Linked DNA regions of Homo sapiens: region 2 is linked to region 1. Evidence: promoter capture Hi-C in 16 types of primary human blood cells and fetal thymus (Javierre and others, 2016). All regions are on one chromosome and are shown on one strand. Each heading gives the region's core, a stretch centred on a gene start or on the middle of the fragment in contact. The rest is flanking DNA. Distances are from core to core; before and after follow the strand shown. Region 1 holds the start of CMPK2 (cytidine/uridine monophosphate kinase 2). Region 2 overlaps EIPR1 (EARP complex and GARP complex interacting protein 1).

Region 1 (4,969 bases), core at 1,356-3,855:
TCCTGGGCTCATTTTATTAATTCTTATTTTCTGAGCTCATCATTTATTTTATAATATTCACTTTTATGAATGTGGAATTGTTTGTAATATTCTCTTTTGGGTATCCTTTTGAACTTGTGGTTCTATCATCTCATTTATTCCTATTCTGATTTGCATTTTCTTTCTTTTTCCAATTGAATTAAACTACCTAGAAACATATCTGTTTAAACATGTTTTCAAAAACTAAGCTCTTTTTCAAAGTGTTATTTTTTCATTTTATTATTTATTAATTGCTATTTATATTTTTAATTCTCCCATTCTGTTTCTTTTTTTCTTAGGAGCAGAATGGCTAGAAAAGTTTCATTTTCTCTTGTTTAATACTGTAAGTGTTGAAGATTATGGCTTTTCCTATGATATAGCTGTGCTGTTCATTCATTTAAAGACACCTCTTTGAAGTATCTTCCCAGCCTGCAGCTTCTCTCCTTTCCACCTGCAACGATGGGTGGCTACAGGCATGTTTAGTCAATATAAACATCCAGCTGTGGCTCTCAGAGTCTCTGTCCTACAAATTTGAAGGGGCTTGAAAATCTAACAGAAATTTTTATTTATGAATGAAGATATATCTTCAACATCTTCAACACTTATATAATATTGACTAAGCCCAAATACTGCAGTGTTATTAACTTTACATCTCTTCGTAGGGCGAAGGTAGGTGAAAAATAGAGAGGAAAACTTAAATTAAAAAAGGTAAGATGCTTCATTTAGCAAACTGTGTGTCAGGTTTTCTTTCAGTTGGAGGCTCAGAGAAAAGTTAGGAAGAAGCTGGTCTTCCTACTTACCCTCAAGGTGCTCAGTGGTGGGAAATAGACTGGCACGTGACTGTGGAGTGTCAAGGTCCGAGGATACAAATAGCCTTGGTGGGGGACACAGGAGAGGCTACTAACCCAGATATGTGGGGGGTTATAGGCTATATCATGTCCCCCAAAATTCATGCTCAGGCCTAGCCCCCAGTGCCTCACAGTATGACTGTATTTCAAAATAAGGCTTTCAATAGGTGATTACATTAAAATGAGAACATTATGATGGGCCCTAACCCAATCTGACTGGTGTCCTTCCCAGAAGAGGAAATTTGGAACTTCAAGGAGACGCCAAGGATGCAAGCACAAAGGAAAGGTCCCGTGAGAACACAGAGAGAAGGAGGCGGTCTGCACGCTAGAAAGAGAGGCCTCAGAAAAAGCAAACCCTGCTGGCAACTTGATCTCCAGCTTCTCTGGCCACCTGAACTTTGAGAAAACAAATTTTCTATTGTTTAGGCGGCCCAGTCCGTGGTATTTTGTTATGGCAGCCAGGATAGACTAATACATCCAGAGAGGTGGATGGCATAGGGAAAAGGTCAAGCAGGCTTGAGGATGCAGTACTGTCTTAGAGAAGAAAAGGGAGTAACTAGAAGACTCTTACTTCCATATACTACATACACGTGAAACCACCGGTACATGCTAAATGTCCAAAAGTGAAATTCCTGAGAAAGAATAAAAACTATTCTATTCTCAAAGAGCTAAAAAATTTTAAACTCCTAATTCTTCTTTCTTCTTAGCCTATTAACCCACACTCCAACCACCTATCTATATTTCACGTTTGTTAAGACTTTTTTTTTCAGAATTAAATATAATCCCAAGTTTAAGTCCAATACTATTAAGACATAAAAAAAAAACTGCTTTCAGCTCATCTAATGTTTTCAATCTTCGTCTCAATTCTATTTTTTTGAGAGAGTTTCCCTGGAGAATATTATCTTTTTGTTTGTTTTTGGTTTGCTTGACATCATTTTTAAAAGGCATCAGTTAATGAGTAAACACAGAATAAAATATCCAAATAACTGCGCAAACACTGTTACACTGTTAGGCAGTTACACTGTTAGGCAGCAACAGTGCTGATGCTGGACTGTGGCAGGCAGAGGGTGCTATCCTGACACACTTCACCTTAGTGCAGGAAACTTCAATTTGGTGGAAGAAAGGCGATTTCGAGGTGCCAATCTGGGCGACACTTCCCAGTTGGAGAGTCAGCAAAAGGGAGAGGGCAATTCCAAGAAGAGGGAAAAGCTTGTGCACAGGTGAGTGTGTGCAAAGGTGAGTGTGTGCACAGGTGAGTGAGTGCACAGGTGAGATAAGATACAGGAGAGGGAAGAGCCAGAACTGCGCCCTGTTCCCGCAGGAAAGCAGCTCTGCAGGATTAGAGGGGCGGGGACGCGTGGTCAGAGCTAGGAGTTGAGGTCGGGGAGGGAGCCCATGGTCTGCAGGGCCTGGTCAGTCATCCAAGGGCAGTAGTGCGCCTGCAAGTGGGCGTTGAAGAGCCCGTTACACCGGGAAGGGACTTCTCTGTCCCTCGCGCGTGCACCCCCGCCCCCCTCCATGCACCCGGCATAAGCCGCAGAGGAGGAACTCAAACCAGGGTCGGGGCCGCCAGCCACCCGCAGAACGCACACGGAGCTACCTTGGGGCCGACGGCGCGGGGCCTCATTCGGTGTCAGCCCCGGGAGCCGGCGCCTGGGGACCGCGCAGGCCCGCGGAGCCGCGCACCTGGGGCCCCGGGGCCAAGCGTCTGCTCCCGAGCGCCGGCCGTTTATCGCGCACATCTCGCGGCGAGGAGGAGAGGCCGGAAGGGCGCCCCAGCCCCAGGGCTCCTGCCCCGCCTGGGCCTCCGGCTTTCGTTTCCCCGCAACGCTTCGCTTTCGTTTCCCGCTGGCGCCTGGCTCCCTCCGGGTTTCGTTTCCCGCCGGCGCCTGGCTCCCGCCAGGTTTCGTTTCCGAGGCGGGGCCGAGGGCGGCGTCGCTGAGGCGCCCATGGCCTTCGCCCGCCGGCTCCTGCGCGGGCCACTGTCGGGGCCGCTGCTCGGGCGGCGCGGGGTCTGCGCTGGGGCCATGGCTCCGCCGCGCCGCTTCGTCCTGGAGCTTCCCGACTGCACCCTGGCTCACTTCGCCCTAGGCGCCGACGCCCCCGGCGACGCAGACGCCCCCGACCCCCGCCTGGCGGCGCTGCTGGGGCCCCCGGAGCGCAGCTACTCGCTGTGCGTGCCCGTGACCCCGGACGCCGGCTGCGGGGCCCGGGTCCGGGCGGCGCGGCTGCACCAGCGCCTGCTGCACCAGCTGCGCCGCGGCCCCTTCCAGCGGTGCCAGCTGCTCAGGCTGCTCTGCTACTGCCCGGGCGGCCAGGCCGGCGGCGCACAGCAAGGCTTCCTGCTGCGCGACCCCCTGGATGACCCTGACACCCGGCAAGCGCTGCTCGAGCTGCTGGGCGCCTGTCAGGAGGCACCACGCCCGCACTTGGGCGAGTTCGAGGCCGACCCGCGCGGCCAGCTGTGGCAGCGCCTCTGGGAGGTGCAAGACGGCAGGCGGCTGCAGGTGGGCTGCGCACAGGTCGTGCCCGTCCCGGAGCCCCCGCTGCACCCGGTGGTGCCAGACTTGCCCAGTTCCGTGGTCTTCCCGGACCGGGAAGCCGCCCGGGCCGTTTTGGAGGAGGTAAGAGTTCTGTCCGCTTCCAGCTCCCAGCGTGGCATCTGAACCCTTCAGACCAGAGAACTGGACCAAGAGGCTGGTCTGTAGAGCCGGTTCTTGCCTGGGTGGTTTGTTTATTTCCGTTCACAAATCAGGTAGGGAAGGTGTCCTGTATGCCAGGCAACTCTTTTAAGATTCTTGTTTGCAAGGATCTTCCAACCTGACGTGGAACATAGACCTACACCAAGCCACGCGATGCTTGCTGTAAAAGCATCCCAACAGCAGTACAGAGGGAGTAAAGGGGCTGCCGGGAGTGAGGGAAAATAATGTCAGCTGGGAAGTAATTTTATTTGCTGATGATCACCATTCAAGGATCTTGGGGTGAAAAAGAAAATGCATGAGTTTAGGGGGTTTAAGAAATTTAGACTTAAATAGTGTTTACCTACCGACTGGCCATGAACCTTGTGCAGGTTACTCAACTACTCTAAGTTTTGCCCTTTGACATGTACAATTCCCATCTTGCGATGTTGTCCTGATTAAGGAAACATCTGACTCACAGCAGGTACCCACAGAAAGAGACTGAAAATTCTTTCTGATCGCAGGCTAGGCAGATGTCCTCCTGTGACACAGATGAGCCCTGAGGATGCCCCCATGGATCTTGGGAATATTTTCCAAGCTTACGGGACAGCGTTGTGGAGCAGTTAAGAGCGCAAGGTCAACCACGTGTATTTAAATTTAAACTCTGGCATTTATTAGCTGTGTCACTTTGAGCAAGTTTCTTCAACTCTCTGCCTCAGTTTCCTTAATTCATATGGTGGGAATAATAATAGCACCCCCCCACCCCAGTTCACAGAGATTGGCAACTGAATACTTGTAAAGCACTTAGAAGATTGCCATGCTCAGAGCAAGCACATAAGTGTCTGAGCCTCGCTCTGAGATGCTGTGAGCGTGCAGTGAGATAATGCACATTGAGGAACTGGGAATTCCCAGGGGGACGCTGCTCTGCCAGCTTCATGATTGCAGTGCTTGGCTGTTTATCTCAGCCCCCTGAATGGCTAGGAGAGGACATGCTGCAGATGAAGACTGCTCTCTCCAGCCCACTGTGCAGCTGATTTCCCATTCTTGTGAGACAGTGTTCCCAGCGGGCCTGTAGTTCCATGGTTGCGGTGTCACAGGACATTGTGATGATGTGCCTTGCCTGGCCTTTCTCAAAGCTGCTCAGTGAAGGCTGCAGGCCACCAAGCGATCCAGACAGGGACAGCTGTTTCGAGCCTCGGCTGCTCAATATAAAATAAAACACTCCAGTCCATCCTAGCATCGAAATACTCTGAATTCCCATGGCCTGGCACAGTGCTCAGTATAACTTAGGCCTTATTAGCATGCGGCAATATTGTGCTCAGCAATTTAGGTGTGATTTCTGCAAAAGCCCCCTGGCTTCATTGCTGATGGATAGACGTTGTTTTACAGTGTACCTCCTTTATTCCTGAAGCCCGGGCAGTGCTT
Region 2 (4,967 bases), core at 188-2,687, 3.6 Mb after region 1:
CACCACAAGGTTTCCACGCTTGTCGGGTGCTTTGAAAAATTAGGCAGTGCTGTAGCGTGGACCTGAAGGACCTGGCCCACTTGAGCACTTGCCAGTCACCTTGGGAAGTCGCTGAGAGCTCTGGCTATTGGGGGGTGTGTGTGTGTGTGCGCGCACGCGTGTGTGTGTGTGTGTGCGCACCCGCATGCACACATGTTTGTGTTTCTAAAGGAAACCTTTGGTAACACAGAAGCCACCCACTGCTGTGCAGATGGTCATAGCTCTTATTCTTCAGATGAAGGCCGGTTGAGGCCAAGAAGAGGGAGGAGCTGAGGGGATGTGACCTATTCCTGTGGCTCCATGTCGGCGTCACCTTTTTAAGTCATTTGTAGCACTCATCTGGCTCATACATCTTTGAAGAGGGTAGTGAGTGAATAACAGGTAAGCAGCCATCAGAGGTTGTCATTTTCTTTTTCCTTTTCAATTTGCATCTTCCAGAGTTTTTGATGTGCAAGTTTGCATGTTAGTCTGAAACTGTTCTAACTTGCCGGTGGAAAACACACACAGACTTAAAAGGCAGGATAATTACCTTGCTGAAATTCTTTTCTCACCTTTTATGAAAGAGAAAGCTATTTTCTTGAGGAGTCAAGTTCCTATCCCAGCAAGGAAAAACTGATGACAGATTAGGGATGTGGCCACAGGCCCGGGACCAGCTGGTTAGCTAAACTCTCTGGAGTGTCTTTTGGAGGCCATGGCCTTGTGACCTCAGAGATGAACACTTACTTCAAAGCACAGGATTTTGACACTCAAGAGAGCAGGTCTCTTGTGCAAAGTAGGAGCATCTTCCAGTGCAAGGGCAGGGCTTGGAGAGAGACTGCAGAGGCTTCCGCGGAGTGGGGCTCAGTTTTGTGAATGCTGCCGCTTGTAATTCAACAGCGTCCCGCACTTTTACAGTGTGTGCTGTAGTGACGCAGGGGCTGCAGGGGACCCCAACAGGAGTGAGGGATGAGACTTTCTTTTTCCCCTTCTATCAGGGTGTTGACCGCCACGGCCCTGGGCTCTGGCAGCCTGGGTCTGGTCTTATTTATTGTGCATTCACCATGTTGGGCCTCCCCAGTGTGGAGCGTCGTGACACAGGGCCCTGGCTGCCGGAGCCTCGATGCGATGTCCTCCCACGTGGGTGTCCCCAGCCGACACGGAGAACTCCTGCCTGCTCTTGGGGACTCTTGCCTGTTGTTAAAGATGGAAAAGGTAGAGAAACAAGAAGGAATTCTGAGTGGTTCAGTCAGACATGTTTAAAGCAAAAAGTTGGCTTTTCAGTTTCAGAATTTAAGCATGCGATGTATTAGGTATTTTCAGCCAGTGACATTGAGCGACACAAACCACAATTTATTGGTAAAAAAAACAGCAAAATACAAGACATGCCAAACACATGTGCCCTCATTCCTGCAAGTTTTTTGTTTTGTTTCATTTTTAATTCTAGCAGTAATATGGATCCACACCACGCCCTCACTCTGTGGCCCTGGGCCTAATCCAGCCTGCTGCCTGCTTGTGTAAATAAAGTTCTGTTGGATCCTGGCTGCTACCCTTTGGTCATATATTGTCTGTAGCCACTTTTATGTTACAGTGACAGAGCTGAGTAGCTCAGAAGCCTGACCTGGCCCACAAAACTGAAAATACTTGTCATTGAGCCCCTTATAGAGAAAGCCTGACACCTGCTCAGGGTGCTGAGAACTTTGACTCCTATCTTTGAGATTTTTAAAGTTCTAAGGGAAAAGTAAGTAACTTCTCTATTGCTGTAATTCTTCACCCACTTAGGCCTCAGCTCACTGGACATTTTACCCAGATGGAACTTTGATGAAGAACAAGTCAACAGACTTTCCTTTGAAGGCTCCTTAGCTTGACTTCCAAAATAGATGCAATGAATGAAGAAGCAATTCACAGATGTGTGAGAAGCAGCCAGTACACACTTGACGGGTGGACAAACTTCCTAGTTGTTAGAAAACGCAGATTAAAGCAGCGAAGACATACCCTGTGAGGTTGGCTTGGGGAAGGGATCAGCACGGTCATTATCACAGTTACGGCTGGGATCCAGTGTCCCTGAGAATGCCGGGGGAAATGCACATTCTAGGAAGACAATTTGGGAAACATGTCTGTGTTTTGGCCCAGCAATTATAGCTCTAAGCACTTACCCTAAAGTGTGCCAAGAAGTCTTTCTCCAGGATACTTACTGCTTCATTGTATGAATCAATTGTGTGAAAAATTGGAAACAACTGAAGTGGCATACATGGGAATTGGATTAAAAAATTATGGAAATTCACACGATAGAATTCTGTGTGCCCTTTGGAAAGAATTATATCTATTTGATATGGAAAGTTACCCAGGATATATTTTAAGTTAAAAAAAAAAGCAAGTTGCAGAATAACATTAATAGCCTGATCACATGTTTGTAAGTAATGATTATGATTGTATTATACATACCACTGTATGCATAGAAAAGACCTGGAAAGCTGCATATCAATCACTTATTAACAGTAGTTATCATCTGTGGGTGGGAGTATGAGAGACTTCTACTTTTCTAAAGTTTTAAACTTTTTAATGGGCATATATGACTTTGCGTTTACAGTGTAAAGTAATACAGCTTAACGTGAGACTTCGCAAAGGCAAGAGGCTTCTTGTGTTTTACTCAGAGGAGAACTTCTTTAATGCCCACTTAGGGCTATTTATTATTTTGTTAGCAAAACTCGTTACATCTAAGTGTATGTGCTTTTCAGGGTGGTTGAGAGAGGAGAGAAGCCAGTGCAGACAGGGACACACACAGAAACAGAGACGGAGTAGATAACCATCCACGGGGCTGCTGACTAAATTTTCATAAAAGCAAACCCTATTCAGGCCTATTCAACATGGGGGAACCGGCTCTCTCCCCTGAGAGGAGAGTGAGTGTGATGCTGTCCTAACAGTGTTGAAATGGGTCATAACTGGCCTGTGCTCAGTGAAGCAGGCAAAAGACGGATGATGCACCTCAACGTAAATTCTAGCCAAAAAGCCTAAAATAACTAAAAAGAGACCAACATTGAAACAGGAGATCAAAAAATATCTTAAGGCAAATGAAAATGGAGCCACAACATACCAAAATGATGGGATGCAGCAAAAGCAGGTCTAAGAAGGAATTTAATAGCAATAAATGCCTACATGAAGAAAAAAAGAAAGATCTCAAATAATCAACTCAACTTTATACATCAGGGACTAGAGGAAGGAACAAACTAGGCCCAAAGTTAGCAGAAGGAAGGAAATAACAAAACCCAGAGCAGAAATATATGAAATAGACATGAGAAAAGCAATTGAAATATCAAAACTTAGAGCTGCTTTTCGAAAAGATAAAGAAGTTGACAAGCCTTTAGTGAGGCTAAAGAAAGTGAGAAAACACAAACAAAATCAGAAATAAGAGACAATATAAATGGTTCCACAGAAATACAAAGGATCATAAGAGACTACTGTGAACAATTATGCGTAAACAAATTGGATAACCTAGAAGAAATAGAGGAAACATACAACCTACCAAGACTGAATAAAGACGAAATAGAAAATCTGAATAAATCAACAATGAGTAGAGATTAAATCAGTAATCAAAAATCTCCCAACAAAGAAAAGCCCAGGACCTGATGACTTCACTGCTGAATTCTGCGAAATATTTTAAGAAGAATTAATGTTTGTTCTTTTCAAATTCTTTCCACAAAATTAAGAAGAGGGAACACTTCCAAACTTATTTTATGAGACCAGCATTAGTCTGATGTTAAAGCCTGACAAAGACACTACTAGAAGAGAAAATTACAGGCTAGAACATCTGATGAAAGTAAGTGCAAGTCCTCGATAAAATATTAGTAAACCAAATACAGCAGCACAGTAAAAGGATTATATACCATTATTAAGGGGGATTTGTCCCTCAGATGCAAGGATGCTTCAATATACCCACGTCAGTAAATGTGATACACCACATTAACAAAATAGACAAAAACCATACAAGCATCTCAGTAGAGGCAGAAAATGCATTTGACAAAATTCAACATCTTTTCATGATAAAAACTCTAAATAAATTAGATATAGAAGTAATTTACCTCAACATAATAAAAGCCATATATGGCATGTGTGTTAGCCAACAACTAACATCTGAAAAGTTGTAAGCTTTTCTTATAATATCAGGAACAAGACAAGGATGCCCACTCTTGCCACTTTTATCCATCATAATAACTGGAAGTTCTAACTAGAGGAATTAAGCAAGAAAAAGAAATAAAAGGCAAAAGCATCCAGATCAGAAAGGAAAAAGTATTTGTAGACAACATGATCCTAATATAGAAAACCCTAAAGATTCCACTAAAGCATTGTTAGAATCAGTAAACAAATTCAGTAAAGTTGCAGGATACAAAATCTGCATACAAGAATCAGTTGCATTTCTGTATACTGACAATGAAATATCCAAGAAAGAAATTAAGAAAACAGTTCCATTTACAACAGCATCAAAAAGGATAAATTTCTTAGGAGTAACTTTTACCAAGGCAGTGAAAGATCTGTACACAGAAAACTATAAAACATTGGTGGAAGAAATTGAAGAAGATGCAAACCAATGGAAAGATGTTCAGTGTTCATGGATGGGAAGAATTAATATTGTTAAAATGTCCATACCACCCAAAATCATCTACAGATTCAATGCAATCCCCATCAAAGTTCTGATGGCATTTATCCATAGAAACAGAAATAAAAGTCCTGAAATTCATATGGAACCCCAAAATACCTTGAATAAGTAGACTTTGAGAAAGAAGAACAAAGCCCAAGACATTCCACTTCCTAATTTCTTATATCATAAGACTACTGTAATAGAAACAGGATAATATGAAATTACAAATTGACATATAGACCAATGGAACAGAATAGAAAGCTCATAAATAAACTCACACGTATATGGTCAACTAACCTTTGAGAAAGATACCAAG

The links. Contacts are between HindIII fragments. The CHiCAGO score rates a contact against its expected background, and 5 or more counts as called.
Region 2: a contact is called between a fragment that was not itself captured here and the fragment with the promoter of CMPK2 in region 1, in 1 of 17 cell types (M0 macrophages). The highest score is 8.1, in M0 macrophages.

The regions. Positions count from the first base shown.
Region 1 is chr2:6,863,543-6,868,511 of GRCh38, reverse strand. CMPK2 (cytidine/uridine monophosphate kinase 2) reads left to right here and starts at 2,605. Exons shown (of 5, transcript NM_207315.4): 1 at 2,605-3,490; 2 at 4,934-4,969. The coding sequence starts at 2,816. It also overlaps a transcript of RSAD2 not described here. RefSeq lists silencers at 2,345-2,614, 2,855-3,294 and an enhancer at 2,615-2,834. The HindIII fragment of the contact is 2,067 bases long and covers 2,078-4,144 here.
Region 2 is chr2:3,230,631-3,235,597 of GRCh38, reverse strand. The region is part of intron 4 of EIPR1 (EARP complex and GARP complex interacting protein 1); the gene reads left to right. Among named protein-coding and RNA genes, the nearest start is that of LINC01250, 110 kb to the right of the region's middle. RefSeq lists an enhancer at 317-1,516. The HindIII fragment of the contact is 5,453 bases long and covers 1-4,163 here.